Linked DNA regions of Homo sapiens: region 2 is linked to region 1. The links are contacts of gene promoters, found by promoter capture Hi-C in blood cells and fetal thymus (Javierre and others, 2016). All regions are on one chromosome and are shown on one strand. Each heading gives the region's core, a stretch centred on a gene start or on the middle of the fragment in contact. The rest is flanking DNA. Distances are from core to core; before and after follow the strand shown. Region 1 holds the start of OGT (O-linked N-acetylglucosamine (GlcNAc) transferase). Region 2 overlaps FTX (FTX transcript, XIST regulator).

Region 1 (5,063 bases), core at 131-2,630:
GTTGGTGCTCAATTTTCAGGAGAGTTTGTGTAGTGATTTTTGTCTTTTTCACTGCATGATGTGACTCTTGATTATGGGATGGAAGAAATTAGCATTATGAATTTTCTCTGTGCCATTTCCATAATTAATTGTTTGTTGACTGTTTTGAAGAAATTTAAGCAGAATTTGAGGACTTAGTTTTAAAAAATGTAGTGAAGGGGCTAGGTAGCAAAAACTTTTTGAAGAAATTCATTGACCTGCTTTCTTAGATCAAGGACTTTTTGAAATAAAAAGGCTCTCAGAGATCCAACTTGTAGCCTCCAGTGGCTTGTAATACTTTCTTGCTGATGTGGCAAGCTACCTTAAGTCGTTTCTAGAACAAGAGGTGAAGTATAAATACCAATGTGACAAAATGTCTGAACAGTAGACTTGAAACTGCAGGAAGATCGTAAGAACCGATTTGTTCAAGGAAGTAGAGGCAATTCATGACTCAATCTAGACGTGTGGTTTAGGCAGATGGCAAGTGAATTCATTTATCATTGTTGATCTGCTTTGAGCTCAGTGGAATCGCCGACTGTGACAATGTGCAGAGCTAGCTGGTGGAAATGAAGTCACAACTCGAGGAGAGTCATGGATTTTGACGAACGTGAATCACCTTTAACATTTTTATGGCTGCCTTCGGAGTGCAAACGCCCAGCATGTCCCTGAGTTATTAAACATTTGCCCTATCACCGTGGGCAGGAGTATTCTGAATACCAAAACGATTTTGAAATTTCAGGCTATACGGCCAACATTGAAGGTGTCTGCATTCAACTGGCCCTGTGAAAGCTTCAGTCTTTTTCATCGAAGTGCTGAAATCGATGGCCGAGTCACAATGAAGACGGGCTCAAATCGGAACCCTCTCGCTCCTCGTTTTGAGCAGCTGTCTTTGAGAGGCAATCTTCTGAATTGACTGGCTCAGAATTGATCCGTGAGAGTCGTAACCATCCGTTTTTGTACGAATACAGTTGATAAACTTTTTTAGACGCCTTTGGCATTTATGTTTAAAACGACACCACCTGCTAAGTAACAAACACTCTTCTTAATCGCGGTGGCAAAAACGTATCCGTCCCGTGTGTGTTTGTTTTTACCCTTCCGCTACACTCTTAAGAAACTTGGCCGCTTCCGCCCCAGAGAGTGCCCTAACCACGAGTCGGGTTGACAGGGCTGCTCGCATGCGCGGTCTCCACCGTGGTGTTTGTCGCAATGGGCGCTGCGCGGAGGACTACATGGAATCTCGACTTTGCAGCTTGAAGTCATTTTGTTGGCGGCGCTGGTTACCGGCTACCTCCGCGCGGGCACTTGATTGTAACAGAAAGTAGTTCCGGCCCATGTTGTTTCGGCCGAGGAGCCGTCGCCGCCATTTCAAGACCGTACTAGGTAGATGGTCAATTAGAGTTCCCAGGGTTTGAAGCCTGTAACTGCTGCCGCCGCTCAAGCCCTCCAGAGCATTGCTACGGCTGCTGCCCTTGTACTACTACCTCCAAATACGTTCTTGCTGGTAGTGGCGGCAGCAGGACCAATTACCTCTTTTTTGCTCTCCCTCGAGAAGCTCCAGATGGCGTCTTCCGTGGGCAACGTGGCCGACAGCACAGGTACCGGTGTCCCGTTCTACCTTGGCAGATGCCCCCTTGGGGTCTCGCGCCGTCCTCTACCTTGTATCACTCCTTCCCTCCCTTCCCTCGAACCATCCCCATTACATCAGTGACATTGCTAAGCTTTTCGTGGTCTACTGGCATCTGATCACATCGGGTTTTCCGCTGTTGTCCGCTTCCCGAACATTTCCTCCTCCTCCCTTGCTTGCTTTTTGCTGCCTTTCTTGCTTTGTTTTTATTTCGTAAATGTTCTAGCATTCCACTCTCTCCAGGCGCTTTTATCACACGTGCGCGCTTAGAATGTCGTGGAATGGACTGCATTGGAATCCCTGCCCTTTCACTCCTTTGCAGCGGTTTTCTCCCCTAATTCCAGCTCATCGCCTCTCCTTTTTCCCCTCCATCTCCTCCTTCATCTCCCCCCCCAGTCTTTTCCCCTTAGCCAGATTTGGTCCTTCTCTGCCAATCTAGGGCGGGGGTGCCGTTCCGATGTAATCATATCCTCACTTTGCATCACCCGAGGACGATCAAAAGCTCGTCGATGGTGCCACAAGTCACCTCGAGAAGAGGGGACATTGAGCAGCACCCTGCTAGGCAGTGCCTTTCTGGTGTTCTTTCGGTTGAGCGGTCCCGGTTTAGATTGGAAATTTCCAGGGGTTTCCTTTGCCATCGCCCAATTCCACCGCTGCCCTCAGCCTGGATTTCCCACCCTGTCCGCGGGGAACCACACCCTTCCCTTCGCGAGGTTGCCAGCCCTGTTCACTTCCTATCCTTGGGGGAGAAACCACCCCGATGCTGCTGCTTTGGCGTTGACCACCCTGCCCGCCCAATTCTCGCTTTGTGTTACTTTCTCGATGTATTCCTCCGCCGCCGCCTCTGGGTCTGCCATCCCCATTCTTCAGCCCAGTATCTCTTTATTCACAGGGTGTAATATTCTTTTAAGTTTCCATCCCTGCTTGAAGAGTTTGTAAAGCAACTGGAGTGTAGCTGCACAAGTACAAGGCGGTTGCCCTTTTAGACACTTCAGTCGCGAGCATTTGGTACTGAAAATACGAAAACAACCAAATTGTAGGAGTGTCCTTCAGCTGCCTTTCCATATTGAGGCGATTTGGGCGGAAGGGGGTGGGGAATTGGGCTGCGCTTCTGAGGTTTCCCGCGAGGTTATTTTTTGGTTGTTTCTCAGTTGAGATGTGTGGAGGGTTTTAGCTACTGTTCCTGGAAGTTGTGCTGTAAGTAGTAGGTGAATCGTCAATAGTGTCTTATCCGTAATTGTAGGGAGTGGGATTAATAATTAGTCCGTGCTCCTCTCCCCACGTCTCCACCGTGATTTTCAAAGGTTTAAGATTCTGTACTGGATTCTGTACTAGCTTGCCCTTTTTAATGTGTTATTTATTTGAGAAAGCTGTCGTTTCAAGTGTTAAAATAGCAGATAAGCGGCATTGAAAAGTGACAAAGTAATGTGTGAAAACAAGGAGCTAGGAAGTTCTAGAGACTTAGCTAAAATGTAATTTTAGTTTCTATTAAAGATATAACCTCTCCCAGATGTGGATGCAAGTCTCAATGCTCTTTGTGTTGGTGGTCAGCTGTGCATTCTGTCAGGAAATTTACTTTGCTTTCCTCAGTATCCGGAACGCTCATCAGCTCTGATGATTGGGGAGCTGGGCTCAAATTTGAACTAGTCACCTTAACCTTGGTAGAATTAAATAATTTGTCCATGGTTTCCCATTTCAACCAGCTAGTGAAGTGCTACGGTCGAATTCCCAGTTTAAGTATTTACAGTTGTGACAAGCAGTTTTTTTTTTTTTTTTTTCCCTCTCTGGGCTTTAGCTATATCCTTTAAAGATCTTTATGTATCTGGATTAAGTCACTTGCAGCGAAGTGCTTTTATTTATTCATTATGTTGCGCTTTATCAAATATATTTTAGCGTCCATCCTCCCTCCCTCCCAACGTTTTGACCATTGCAGTTGCAGGTAACTGCCTGGCTTATATAGGCTTGTTTGCAATGTCTTAATCCTTTAGTCAATACCAGAGCTGTTTGGAAAATGTTAGTGCTAAACCAACGTGGGTGGGATTTAGCCAATTTAGTCTCCTTTTGAGTTTGGGATGGTAGAGGAGCAGTGTAATCTTGGGTCTTTATTTAAAATGTTTGATGACCCCTTTAACTATTTTGGCTGTTGTCAAATGACAAACATCTTGTTTATCAGCTGTTTTAAAAATAGCACTTTGACTTTTTGGTTTTTCCCTTAGGCTCGTTTCTACTTGTCCTTTTAAAGAATTAAATTCTGAAATATACAAAAATTGATATAATTTAAAGAATTAACACATCTGGTGTCCTCACTGAGGTTAAGATTGATAGATTGTTACCAGTACTCCACCTCAACAAATCCAACCTGAAATATGGCACAAAATATTACGTTTCCCAATATGTTATTCTGATATTATTAAGTCTTTGTGACCTTGCAAATCACACGTTTAATATTTTGTTTCTGTATGTTAACTAAGGTATAAGGAATAATGTTCAGTGAATCCTTAGATGCTACCTATGATTTATAATTTAAAAGTACAAAGTATTTTTGGTCATAAAATGTAATCTCATATGGAAGTAAATATTCCTTTCTAGTTTGGGAAAGAAAGTATTAATGGGTGAATTCTAAAAATGCCAATTCTGCACTTGATGTTAACTTGAAGATATACATAACGTGCAGAACACTCTAGTGCTTTACATAGTTTCAAGCATTTCCATTTTTAAGTTAAATATACCATATTTTTACATTTTTTTGGTTTACATTTCTAACTTTTTGTTTTCCCCCCTCCTTCCCTCAAATGTTTTGATGATTCTCCAGAACCAACGAAACGTATGCTTTCCTTCCAAGGGTTAGCTGAGTTGGCACATCGAGAATATCAGGCAGGAGATTTTGAGGCAGCTGAGAGACACTGCATGCAGCTCTGGAGACAAGAGCCAGACAATACTGGTGTGCTTTTATTACTTTCATCTATACACTTCCAGTGTCGAAGGCTGGACAGGTAGGAGATGTTGGGGTACCTGCTCGTGATTGCTGCCTCTGGGTGCTGAGCTTGAAAAATGATACTTAAATATTTGAACTTGAAATTTTTCCAGTACCGGGTTTCAACTGAGCCGCCAACGCACATCTGCTCTCTTGCCCACTTGTGACATGCCCAGCTGCCAGTTTTTCTCCTTCCTTTTGTGGTGGTGGTTATATTATCAGTATGACTAGGGACCTTTTCTAGATTTTTCTATCTGGGTCTGCTGCTTTCTAGACTCTGTTCAGGTAATAAATTATTATCAATGTATATCTGAGCATCCAGTCTCCCTTTCATGAGACCTGTCAGTTTGAGGGACTGAAATGCTCAGAAATGATGGTTATGTATGCTGTGGCAGGAGATGCATACCTGGAGTTTCATTAAGTTGTTATGGTGTGTTGCTTTTAGTT
Region 2 (4,948 bases), core at 1,704-4,203, 2.7 Mb after region 1:
TAAGGTTGGCTCTTTAAAAAAAAAAAAAAAGAGAGAGAGCGAGATTGATTCTTGCTATGTTGCCCAGGCTGAAGTGTAATGGCTATTCACAGGCATGATCTCACTACTGATCATCATGGGAGTTTTGACCCGCTCCATTCCCGACCTGGGCTGGTTCACCCCTCCTCAGGCAACCTGGTGATCCCCCGTGCCCGGGAGGTCACCATATTGATGCCAAATTTAGTGCAGGAATCCAATCGGCATAGCTCACTACAGCTCAGAATTCCTGGGATCAAGCAATCCTCCCTCCTCACCCTCCTGAGTAGCTAGGGCTACAAGTGCATGCCTGCAAGCCCGCAAAAATAGCCTTTTTAGAAGTCATTTCTGAATGGGGTTATTGTTCCTGCCAGGTTTGAAAAACATGTGGACACAAGAGTCACATCCAGGTGTGTACTAGAGAGGCACTGCACTTAATCCTACCTACCTAAGCTATAAACTTTTCGGACTGTGTATCCTTGGCTGATCTTCCTAGGAGCACAGTCACCACTGGATATTGAAAAGGACCTAATTTTTACCTCCAACTGACACATCATTGATAAAGATAATGAGTCTTCACTATGTGCTATCGGGTTCAATGTTACTGAGAGTAGCTGCCCTCAATTACCCCATCAGAAAAAAATAAGGAATATTATTAGAATTTACTTCCTAAGTTAAAAACTGAGCTATGCATACATAGAACAGTGTGTGACACTTACCATTTAATGTATGCTCAGTTAATGTTAACTCTTGGGAGGTTTTTGTTTGCTTGTTTTTTGTTTTTTTTTTGAGACAGACTCTCTTAGTCTGTCACCCAGTCTGGAGTGCAGTGGCGCGATCTTGGCTCACTGCAACCTCCACCTCCTGGGTTCAAGCAATTCTCATGCCTCAGCTTCCAGAGTAGCTGGGATGACATGCATGCACCACTACACCCAGCTAATTCTTTTTTTTTTTTTTTAAGTAGAGACGGGGTTTCACCATGTTGGCCCAGGCTGGTCTCGAACTCTCAACCTCAGGTGATCCGCCTGCCTCAGCCTCCCAAAGTGCTGGAATTACAGGCATGAGCCACCGTGCCTGGCCTCTTAGCTATTGTTATCAAAAGACTGCTATAAAAAAAAGAATGCACTGCTTAGAATGGAAAAACAGGTAAAAGATGATTAAGAGATATTTAAATGAGGCCGGGCATAGTGGCTTATTCCTATAATCCCCCAGCACTTTGGGAGGCTGAGGCAGGCAGATCACTTGAGGTCAGGAGTTGGAGACCAGCCTGGTCAACATGGTGAAACCCCGTCCCTACTAAAAATACAAAAATTAGCCAGGAGTGGTGGTGTCCACCTGTAGTCCCAGCTACTCGGGAAGCTGGGGCAGGAGAATTGCTTGAACCCAGGAGACAGAGGCCGCAGTGAGCCAAGATCACGACACTGCACTCCAGCCTGGGTGACAGAGCGAAACCCTGTCTCAAAAATAAATAAATAAATATTTAAATGAGAAGTAACACAGTTGTTTTTGATGGAAAAGTACTGCAAAAGCAGATTACAAGCGTAGAATAACCTTACAGTCATTAAAAAAATCTAGTGAAAGAGAAACGAACACAGCCATGTCCTAGCATAGGGATGAAACTAGAAAACAAAGAATAGAAATGCAAAACACGCGCGCATGCGCGCACACACACACACACACACACACACACACACACACAAAATCAGGTCACTAACAAGTTTGGTTTGTAATAAGAGAAATTGTCAGAGAAATATGCCCACAAAAATGTATCCGTAAGTATGTTAAATATATTATGTTCAAATTTAATAAAAAACTAAGTCCTAATATTTAAAAGGAAAAAAATTTAATCAAAAAATAAAGGAAATGTTTTAAAACGATCCTGGTCCAAATGAAAGAATTCTATGCATTCACATCTAAAGAGAGGAAAATGTTCTTGTTAAGAGCCACCTAAAAATGTCATCAATATCCGTACACACTAGAAAGAAAGAAATATAGCAATAATCCAAGTTGGTTCTGCATATGCTTTAATTGTGCCATGCCTTTTTTTTTCAAATATTTGAAAATGAATACCTATGGCCTTTTATAATTTTTTTAATACAAAGTATACTGGAGGCAAAGAAAATATTCTTTGTAACCCTAAGTCATAGATACATATTTGAACTTATTATTTCCTTTAAAAAAATTGACTGAAGGCCCTCAGAGAATATGGAGGAAATACCAAGGAATAAAAGAGAAAGCATCACATGTTCAGGTAGTGGACATCAATTTACATAACACACTGACCTACATTAAAAATAATAGCTTAAAAAAAGAATGATTTTTAAATCATAAAACTATTTTAATGTAATTGTTTCACTTTAATCAAGGAGGAAAAGAATGAACAGTGATGCCAAAGATATCACATCTAGAATAGAAAATATTTGTGTTAATTTTTGGAAAACCTGTGGTAATATTGCTATGGCTGCCTCAATCCCAGTACATTGAAGTTGCATCTTACTACTTCAGAGTCAACATCAAGATTTTTATTGCAAAAGTTAAACGATTCTTGATTTTATATGTTACTATGACCAAGCTCATTAGCTTAATAAAATGTATAAGCAATTAACAAAAGCATCACATGAATGTTCCAGAGCAGCATAATCCATTAGATAGCAGAAAAACAAAATGTGGTATACAAGCAAATTGTATATCTAAACAAATACATACTAATAGATGTATATAAACAAAACATGGTACATAAACAAAATGAATGATAAACAAAATGTGGCATATACACACAATGAAATATTATTCAGCTATAAAAAAGAATAAAGTTCTGACATATGCTATAACATGGATGAACCTTGAAGGCATTGTGCTAAGTGAAATACGCCAGAAGCAAAAGGACAAATATTGTATGATTCCACTTATACAAAATATTTGGAATAGGCAAATTCAGAGACTGAAAGTAGATTAGAGGTTACCAAGGGCAAAAAGGAGAAGGAGACAAATGTACTATACTAATTCAAGATATTAACAATAGGGAAAACTGGTCGGGCTCGGTGGCTCAGGCCTGTAATCCCAGCACTTTGGGAGGCCGAGGCGGGCGGATCACGAGGTCAGGAGATCGAGACCATCCTGGCTAACACAGTGAAACCTCGTCTCTAATAAAAATACAAAAAATTAGCCGGGCACGGTGGCGGGCACCTGTAGTCCCAGCTACTCCGGAGGCTGAGGCAGGAGAATGGGGTGCACCCGGGAGGCGGAGCTTGCAGTGAGCCGAAATTGCACCACTGCACTCCAGCCTGGGCAACAGAGCGAGACTCCATCTCAAAAAAAAAAAAAAAAACAATAGGGAAAACTCGGTGTGGAGCATTTGGGAACTCTCTGTACTATGTTTGTAACTTTTCTGTAAATAAAAAACATTCTGAAACAAAACATTTATTAAAAAAAAAAAAAACAGGATGACATCCACCCTCATAAAAATTTACCCTATAAACAGATTAACACATATTTTGAATTTTCTATGTGCTAAAATATACTTACTACAAATTCAGTAAGTCAAACTGAACCAAGATTATAATATCCTTGTAAAATCCCAGGTGTGCAAGGACAATTTTGGAAAACCTGTTTTGTGCTATAGCGGTAAAATAAGGTTAAATAGCCTGGACTCGTGTGTATTTGAAGAAAATTACTTAAGCAAGTGTAAAATGGTTAACATTGCAGTATAAACTAAAATGTTTTGGAAGAGCAATTTGAGAAGAACTTTAATAAATAAGAACTATTCTTATTTTTACCAACTTTTTCAAGGATGCCATCATATAGAAATCATAGAACTACTCACAAAAAGACACAAGGATTAAGTTTTAACCGCACCATTTTTTTGTGAAAGGGACAATCTAAAGTCTTATTAATAAAGAAATGTTAAATTATGTTACATAAATTATGATATCCATGAATTTTCATTTCACACTAACAGTCAAGTATTCTGATGCATAGTCCAGAGACACATGTTAAACACTAAAATTGATGCTATTAAAAACATAAAATTGAATGACTTGTGTATGAAAAGGGGTCCTGTTTAAGCCATGCAAAGACCATGGGGCAAGGCAGACAACTCTCTATGAATATGACAGTCATGACACACCCCATAAAAATTACTTATGACTCAACCAAGAACACAAGCAGTATGAAGCAATGGGCATGCAACAAACTATAGATCATGAAATATTATCAGAACTGTTTCTGATATAGCTCTGCTACTGTTACTATGTTACATGCACTCTTATTAAAAAGCCCCCTACATTAATTCTAGTAAGTAAATTTTCTGTTACAAAAGTCCATATAGGCATTTATACCATGTGACATCTGGCAGAAATATATATAATAGTAGCAAGGAAAAACAAAAAACCTGGGTAGAATTAACACAAAATAGATTAATAAAAACATTCAAGATGGAGACTAGTAAACTGTTGAAGTAGGGAAGTCAAGAGTCATGAAAAGTCATTGACTCAAACATTATTAAAATAGAACCAAAAAATTTAGAGTATACAGAATGGCATCACATAAATGAGTCTAAATATAGATAGGCAGCAAGAGGCACAATAAATAGCAACATTTATAGTACTTCCACAATCAAAATAATTCTATGCTATCACAGGAAAAGACAGTCAATGACACCAACCAGTGAGTCCAGAAGTCAAATAGATGAGAATTTAGTATTTGATGTGTAGAACTTTAAATAAGTGAGCAGGCACAGGGGTACTTGCCTGCAGTCACAGATACTCAGGAGGCTGGGTCGAGAGGATCACTTGAGCCCAGGAGTTCAAATCTAGCCTGGGCAACATGGTAAAACCCTGTCTCTTAAAAAAAAAAAAAAAGAGTGAGCAAAATGTAGATTTTTCAGTAAATAGTATTGGGACAACAGCTAGCCATTTAAAATAAAATGTGAAAT

The links. Contacts are between HindIII fragments. The CHiCAGO score rates a contact against its expected background, and 5 or more counts as called.
Region 2: a contact is called between a fragment that was not itself captured here and the fragment with the promoter of OGT in region 1, in 1 of 17 cell types (neutrophils). The highest score is 6.6, in neutrophils.

Annotation. Positions count from the first base shown.
Region 1 is chrX:71,531,724-71,536,786 of GRCh38, forward strand. OGT (O-linked N-acetylglucosamine (GlcNAc) transferase) reads left to right here and starts at 1,381. Exons shown (of 22, transcript NM_181672.3): 1 at 1,381-1,613; 2 at 4,455-4,635. The coding sequence starts at 1,577. RefSeq lists enhancers at 432-1,631, 1,132-1,471, 1,297-1,955. The HindIII fragment of the contact is 929 bases long and covers 806-1,734 here.
Region 2 is chrX:74,242,569-74,247,516 of GRCh38, forward strand. All of the region lies in intron 5 of FTX (FTX transcript, XIST regulator), which reads right to left. It also overlaps the pseudogene RN7SL648P. Among named protein-coding and RNA genes, the nearest start is that of MIR374B, 26 kb to the left of the region's middle. The HindIII fragment of the contact is 8,000 bases long and covers 1-4,948 here.